Linked DNA regions of Homo sapiens: region 2 is linked to region 1. The links are contacts of gene promoters, found by promoter capture Hi-C in blood cells and fetal thymus (Javierre and others, 2016). All regions are on one chromosome and are shown on one strand. Each heading gives the region's core, a stretch centred on a gene start or on the middle of the fragment in contact. The rest is flanking DNA. Distances are from core to core; before and after follow the strand shown. Region 1 holds the start of F5 (coagulation factor V). Region 2 overlaps LOC107985745 (a long non-coding RNA gene).

What was found. Contacts are between HindIII fragments. The CHiCAGO score rates a contact against its expected background, and 5 or more counts as called.
Region 2: a contact is called between a fragment that was not itself captured here and the fragment with the promoter of F5 in region 1, in 1 of 17 cell types (neutrophils). The highest score is 7.3, in neutrophils.

Annotation. Positions count from the first base shown.
Region 1 is chr1:169,584,346-169,588,303 of GRCh38, forward strand. F5 (coagulation factor V) reads right to left here and starts at 2,136. Exons shown (of 25, transcript NM_000130.5): 1 at 1,884-2,136. The coding sequence starts at 2,041. RefSeq lists enhancers at 1,610-2,111, 2,112-2,611. The HindIII fragment of the contact is 11,391 bases long and covers 1-3,958 here.
Region 2 is chr1:169,673,393-169,677,350 of GRCh38, forward strand. The region is part of intron 1 of LOC107985745 (a long non-coding RNA gene); the gene reads left to right. Among named protein-coding and RNA genes, the nearest start is that of SELL, 36 kb to the right of the region's middle. The HindIII fragment of the contact is 7,849 bases long and covers 1-3,958 here.

The DNA.
Region 1 (3,958 bases), core at 886-3,385:
GGATTGTTTAAAGATGATTTGTTCATAATCACAAAATCATATAAAGCTAGAACCCTAGAAGGAAAATGTATGTATATCTTTTCTTCAATATCTCTTTGTATACATGTGAGTGACTAAACAAGTTTTCTAAGGAAATTTTTGAAAGTGTTCACCTTAGACTTGGAGCAAGAATAATAGATACATTTTACCTTTAAAAGGCATTGTCCTGCTAATATTATATGAAATAAGTAGATAGATGTCTGCTTTGTGCTAAAATACACTTTGCCAAAAGATGGAGTTGGCTATGTTGATATTCACCTAGTGAGTATCATAGCTCTAGGGGCAGGACAAGTTAGAACAAGTTCTTAGTTTAAGCAGCCAGATATATGGATTAGATTTTTCATAAGAAAATGCTAGAGAGAAATGATATGATTTAGGGTTAAACAATATGACAGTTTGTCTGGGTTGTGTTTCTATGGTTTTGACTCAACAATTCCTACCAGAGGAACGAATCTCCAGAACTTTGGAAACTTACCCACAGGATGAGGGGACAGAATGACCAGTCATGGTTCCCTGTGTACTCACCATGTGAATCAGACCTTTGCCCTATCTGGTTCTGCCTCCGGTATTTTGCTTGTTATTTTCAACGCTAACTACAGACAAGAGAAAAAACTCCCAAGCATGAACCCAGCATGCTACAAGAAAGCCAACAACCAAGTCTGCATTCTACTCATGAGCAGGCAAGATTAGTGTTAGAAGGACTGTTATTTTCCTTGGGGTTTTAGCTTACGGCAGTTCCCAAAGGGTGTGGGTGTGACCTAGATTATCACTTTGAAGTACGATATTTAAAATGATTATTTTTGAGAAGGAGGGATCTCTTCTTATTATAAGACCAAGATGGTATGTAATACCCTCCAAAATAACCCAGTTACAATGAGAGTTTTAAAAAGGTTAATATTATACACTAAAAGATCTCAAAATATTACATTATTTTTTGGCAGATTACTTTGGTTTTGTAATTGTAAAAGAGGAACACATCTTTCATAATGAAGTGTGATGTAAGGAAAAAAAGTGAGTCACACTAGCAGGTTTACCATTTAAAAAATAACTAACTGGAAATATTGAATAGACTGTATGATTTAGTTAATTTCTGAGAAGTCTTATTTTTAACATTTCAATTAGAAAAAATAGTTTGCAACTCAAGGATAGTATTTTATCTGAATTAAACCTCCTCTCAGTTACATATGCCTTTAAGTAGCCAAGGTAAACCATATCCCAGGACATGATGAACAGAGAGAAAAAAAAATGAAGAGTCACATTCAATAGGATAAATAAGTCAAATATGAAGCAGAAAAAAGGTGAAAGTACAAAAACATACAAGAACTGATGATATTTTGAAAGTCATTTATAAGGCAGCAATAAAATTATATGACAAAAAGCACAAGGTGTTCATTTTTAGTTTTAGAAGATGAAGCTATGTAGACAATGGAATAAATAATATGTAACTAGGAGTCTCATAAAAATACTATACAACTAAAAATCTGGAACAGGAGTTTGCAGGAAGGGCTAATGAGGGAGCAAGTGCCTGGTGCCTTTGAATTAACCAATATATAAGCCAACACAAACATACTAACAAAACTGTATTGAAAATAAACTTGAAAAGAAGGTAGCATCTAACCAATCAAATAGGGTGCTTTCTAAACCCTCAGAATGATAAACTACATTGTTGGATGCAAAATTAGCATTTGCCCAGTTTATTTAATTCAGTATACTCTCCTATTAGTTATATTTACTTACCTGAAGTTAAAAAAAAAAAAAGCCATGACATTGCAAAGGGAATGTTCTCTAAAAGAAATAGATTTTCCTCTCTAGAGAAGCCCACCCGGACTCCACACCTGAGTTACCTTGAGTTTGTGGGCTCAGGTCGGTAGCTCCAACTGATGCCCTGAGCAGCCACGTAGAACTGCCTTAGCTGTGCCGCTTCTGTCCCTTGGCTCCCCCAGCCTACCCAGCTGGTGCCCAAGACCACCAGGACCCAGAGGCGTGGGCAGCCTGGGAACATGCTTCCTTTCCTGCTCCCGCTGGCTGCCACCACCCCAGGACCTGGGCAGCGCTTGCCGAGCTGCTAACCACACTCCGGGCTGTCCCAGCTGCAATGAGCTCTAGAGGCTGTGGGTGGCAGCGTCCTCCTCCCCTGCAGTTCTTGCAAACGGCAGCAGCAGCCTCTGGCTCTCACTCCCTCCGCTTTTTCTGGGGCTTTTCCTGGCAGGGGTTTGGTGAGATCACAGCTCCCAGTGACCAGAGGTATTAGGGAGAGCAACCAAACTAGTGACTGTTTTACTGCAGGTGAAGAAGGGGCAGAGATCAGAGGCTCTAGCAGGCGGGACAATGCCCAGGGATTCATGAGCCGGACAAAGCTGTATCCCTCCATTTCCACCTGCCAACACCACGGAAGCAGTCGTCCGTTACCACTGACCTGAGGCCTGCCTGGGTCCAAGCTCACACTTGGAGAACCTTCTGTGCAGTGCAGTGGCACCCAACCACCTTAAGCAGATGGCTCCCCTTTTAATCTGAGGAAAAGAGTATTGTGCCCTGTTACTGGGCACTGAAACACTATTTTCAAGTGGTGAAGAAGCAGGGAACAAACACATGGACAAGGCCTACTGCTCTGAATCGCCTTCCTGGCCTCTATCAAGGCACAGTTCTGCCTTGATAAGGGCCTGTCGCCAGCTAAGCTGCAGCATAGCAGCGGGCTTGAAGAGCTTGGCTGAAAAAAATCAGTTGTCCAGATTTCAGTTTCACTTACTAGCTGTGTTGTCTTGGGCAAGTTACTGTACCTCTCTGTTCAGTTTTGACATCTGTGAAATAAGGATGACAATAATAATTTTTCCTGATAGGGTATGTTGGGAGGATAAAATGCTACTGTAAACTATAGTTCCAGCACTTAACACACAGAGGCTAGGCGCAGTGGCTCACGCCTGTAATCCCAGTACTTTGGGAGGCCAAGGCGGGTGAATCACCTGAGGTCAGGAGTTCAAGACCAGCCTGGCCAACATGGTGAAACCCTTCTCTACTAAAAATATAAAAAATTAGCCGGGCGTTGTGGTGGACACCTGTAATCCCACCTACTCGAGAGATTGAGGCAAGAGAATTGCTTGAACCTGGAAGGTGGAGTTTGCAGTGAGCTGATATCATGCCATTTTACTCCAGCCTGGGCAACGAGAGCAAAACTCCATCAAAAAAAAAAAAGAAAGAAAGAAAAAGAAAGAAAGAGAAAAAGAGAGAAAGAAGGAATCACAAATTTATTATTATGATCATATTTTCCTGTCTCCAGGACCCCTTGTATTCTTGTTTTTCTTGAAGGATCTGACTGTTTCACAGCACCTTAAATCTTACTTTGCTATTGATAGAGAATCTGCGAATTATATTGTCTGAGGCATCATAATGACTTGTCCTGGGTTCCCTGTATCTGCATGGCTCCAGGTTTCTGTCTTATGCTTTATGCATTCAGTACATTCAATAAATTGTAATCTGGCACCTCACATGAGGTCTCTGTTAATGATATCAGGCTCATCAACAGCCTCTTCCTCCCTCCCCACTCCCCCCAATATTCTGTCTTTTCTCCTGTGCTGATATTATTGCACCAACTTAGAATGCCCATTTTCTTCCTCTTTGCTGGGCCATTCTTTACAGTCCAGAGTTCTGCCTATCTCCCAGATTCTGGGCTCAAATTGGCTTTTCCATTTTATGAACTATTACAACACTATTCAAATTATATAATCATGTTAATTACCTTTTGTTATTCCATGCAGGTATCTATTGTCTCCCTAACTGAACAGTTGCTTACACTTCTTTATCTACAATATTATCAGTGTCTCCCAAAGTTGGCAGACCATCAGAATTCCCAGGGGAACTTTTACAAAATGTAGATTCTGACTCAGGAAACAGGGTTGAGACCAAAGTCCTAGAACACCTAGCC
Region 2 (3,958 bases), core at 505-3,004, 89 kb after region 1:
TCGTCTAAATGCCCATCAGTGGTAGACTAGCTAAAAAAAAAAAAATGTGGTACATATACATCACAGAATAGTATGCAGCCATAAAAATGAACAAGATCATCATGTCCTTTGCAGCAACATGGATGTAGTTGGAGGCCATTATCCTAAGCAAATTAATGCAGGAACAGAAAGCCAAATACCACATGTTCTCATTTATAAGTGACAGCTAAATATTGAGTACACATGGACACAAAGAAGGGAACAATAGACATGGGACCTACTTGAGAATAGAGGGTGGGAGGAGGGTGAGGATCAAAAAGTACCCATAGGACACTGTGCTTATTACCTGGGTGATGAAATAATTTGCACACCAAACCCCTGTGACACACAATTTACCTATATAGAAAACCTGTGCATGTACCCCTGAACCTAAAAGTTAATGGTGGGGGGGTGGGGTTAAGCTACTTTGTGGTATAAATCTGAGCATTCATATTAAAATAAAATATTTACCTCATTAGAGTAATTAACATTTATTAAGCAAAGAGCCAAGTACCTTACACACATGATGTTTAATCTCACAATGATCTTTAATCTCATAACAACCGTCCATTGTATGTACATATGTGGAAATTGAGCCTTGGAGAGATTAAATGCATGGGGCATGCCATTTGACTAGAAACTGGAAGCATCAGGATTTAAACTCAGTTCTGAATGGTTTTGTAGGCTTTGTTTTTTCCACATTATAGCATGGCCTGCCATGAAGAACAGGTCCTTTCTGGTGTTTGTCTTGTTTGGTTTAAGTGAAGCAAATATTTATTTAAATATTCAAGATATGCTGTTAAATTTTTACTCAAAAATTTGAGTACAGTATGGATCTTCTGAAGCCAAATAACTCTTATTCAATGCTTAGTTGAGAAATTTTATGGAGTAGTTCTCAATTTTTATGTAGTTCCACTGCAAAGGTAAGTCTTATGGAAAGATTCACTGTAATTTTTTTTCCTCATTTGGACATCAGCTTTTTCTTTTCCTCAGACCCGCTGAAAGATAATTTTTAAAATAAAAACCTTGTTTTTATATCAAGTGGGGACATTTTTTCCAAATGAAAACCGTGTATTCATTTTATATGATAAAATCAATGTTATTATTTTTAAAATTTTGATTTAAAAATCATTAAAAATAAATTTTCAGATATTACCTGAAATTCTACCATCCAGAGATAATAGTGCTTAAAGATTTGATATATAGACACACACACATATATACATATATATCATCCTAAACTTCTTTGTATAAATGTATATAAAGTTTTTAATAAAAACTAGGAGATTAATGCCCTTTGAATGAAAATAAATACAATGTGTATGCTTTAACATCTTGCCTTTACTTTATAACATTTATCACAGCAGTCATGAGATAATGATTTACATGGTCATTGTTAGTAAGCTAATAGCTAAGTGCATGAACTCTGGAGCTAGCCTCCCTGGATTTTAATCCCAGATCTGTCACTGACCAGCTGAGCAATACTAGGTAAATTGCTCTTGTTCCTTAGTTTCTTCATCTGTAAAATAGAGATAAAAATAATATCCACCTCATAGGATTGGTGTGAGCATTAAATGAGCATACGTATGTAGGCCACTTAACAACAATGCCTTCACATACTGAACACAAATATACGAGCTGTTGTCTTATTGGGCTCATGTTTTTCCTACCACTAAGCCGCATGCATGCAAGGACCATGTTGGTTTTGTTCCACATTGCATCCCCAACCTGGTATACAGTGTGCATTCAATAGTTGTTGACTATTATTACTAGTGGCATTTAACAAATATCTGTTAAATGAGTGAAGAAATACCCATTTACTGCAAGTGTGTCTAATATTGATGGCATAATGGGGGAAACTCAAACTCTGGAGTCAAACAGGTTTTAAAACCTTATTCCCTCATCCTCAGTTATTGACGTTTTTTTTTTGGCAGGTGTGTGTGTGGGACAACTTATTGAACTTTTCTGAATTTCCAGCTTCGCATATATAAAATAGAGATAGTGATTCATTCTTGCAATGTATGGATTTGAGACAATTGTGTAAGTTTATCAATAAATAGTAGCTATTTTTGTATAAGTATTACATATAATATCCAGGCCACTGCTTTGCATAACCCAAAAGGGGCACCATTCATGCAGAATACAACATAAATGGTGTCCCTGGAGCAGTGCAGTATAGGAACCCTGAGGGGACCTACAGTATACTTTATAGTTCATAGATTACAAATTATCCCTTTATCAGAGTCTCTCAAGGTTGGATGTATTTGAGGTCCATAAGAGCAATTTAGGATTAACAGTAGCTGCAGAAACCATCTGCAGTGATATTCTCATTTTAAATCCGCGGGAAAGAAGACAGCTATAAACTTGGGACCTGGGTTTAAGCATTTTAAATGCCAAGTTCACCATTTTCTAAAACACAACAAATACCCAGTGAGAGAGGGAGAAGGGAAGTAAATGCCTCTGAATAAGCAAGTTAATGTCAGTAGTTGTACTGTATGCATATTGATGAACAATAGAGGAACCAATGTCCAATCAGATGAGCAGGATATTTGGCAATAACAAGTTGCCTTTGAGGAAAAATGATTTTCTTGGCAAGTTCTTTATCAGCATTACAAAGCTAAAAGCTACGCTTATCATCACTTATACTAGCATACCCTGTTGTGCAAATGCTGTCTGTGTTTGCATCTGCTATTGTTGATGCCTGGTGCATGAATCAGGACTCCAGCCCACAAGTTTTCCCAGAACTTTCTTATGGCCATCATCTTTAAGTGTCTGGTGAACAGTCATAGTTTGGTACACAAAAGGGTCAACCTGGGGGATGGCTAGGGTTTGACTCAGTCGTTACATTTCAATAGAGCAGGAAGGGGAAATGGTGGCCTGTAACCTCAGGGAATTTTGCCAGTTGGTCCACCCCACTCTCTCTCTCCTGCTCTGAGGAAGTGGCACAGCCTAGAACAGCACCACAGGTGAGAGAAATGCAAACCCTAACCAGAGAAGCAGACTCTTTGCCAGTAGTAATAGTTCAGGACCACCACCAGCTTTTATTAAAATTTTTAATAACACTCAAGTATTGGCAGAAAGAAATAATCTTGGGTTAACTATAACTAGAATATTGACTCTTCCTCTGTGGAAGAATCAGCCAATCACATTTGTTTACATCAGTTCCCCTGAAGAAGAAAAATACACTGATGTTGCAGCAAGACAAATTTAAGCTAGATGTAAATAACTTCCTTTAGCCTGTAATGCTAGGCTAATTACATATTGGAACTATTTTTTCAGGGAAGAATTGTGTAGGGTTTCAGGGAAGAATTCTGAAGAAAATATAGAGCTGAAATGATCTTGCAGCTCACTGAAACTGCAGGGTTTAGATCCACACTGATACTCGTTCTATTATCACTGTAATGAAGGCTGATGGAATAAGTAAAAATGTTTTGTATTAGTATGTTTTTACACTTATTTGCAAGGCATAAATAGGTTAGGTTTTGATCTTAATTTAATTCTAACATGTATTGTGCACAAGCTGTGAGCAGTTTTCAGGAGTTAGGTATCTGGCCATGACTGATTTTTCAGGAGTTAATCATCTGGTAGAAGGGTCATACACAATAGGAAGATGTGTGTGACAGGTTGTGATCATTACTATAATCACACAGAGAGCTGTAGAATTTTAGGCTGGCAGGGTGGCTCACGCCTGTAATCCCAGCACTTTGGGAGGCCAAGGCAGGCGGATCAAGAGGTCAGGAGATGGAGACCATCCTGGCTAACACGGTGAAACCCCGTCTGTACTAAAAATACAAAAAAAAAAAAAAGCCAGGCGTGGTGGTGGGCGCCTGTAGTCCCAGCTACTTGGGAGGCTGAGGCAGGAGAATGGCGTGAACCCGGGAGGTGGAGCTTGCAGTGAGCCGAGATCGCATCACTGCAATCCAACCTGGGCGACAGAGGG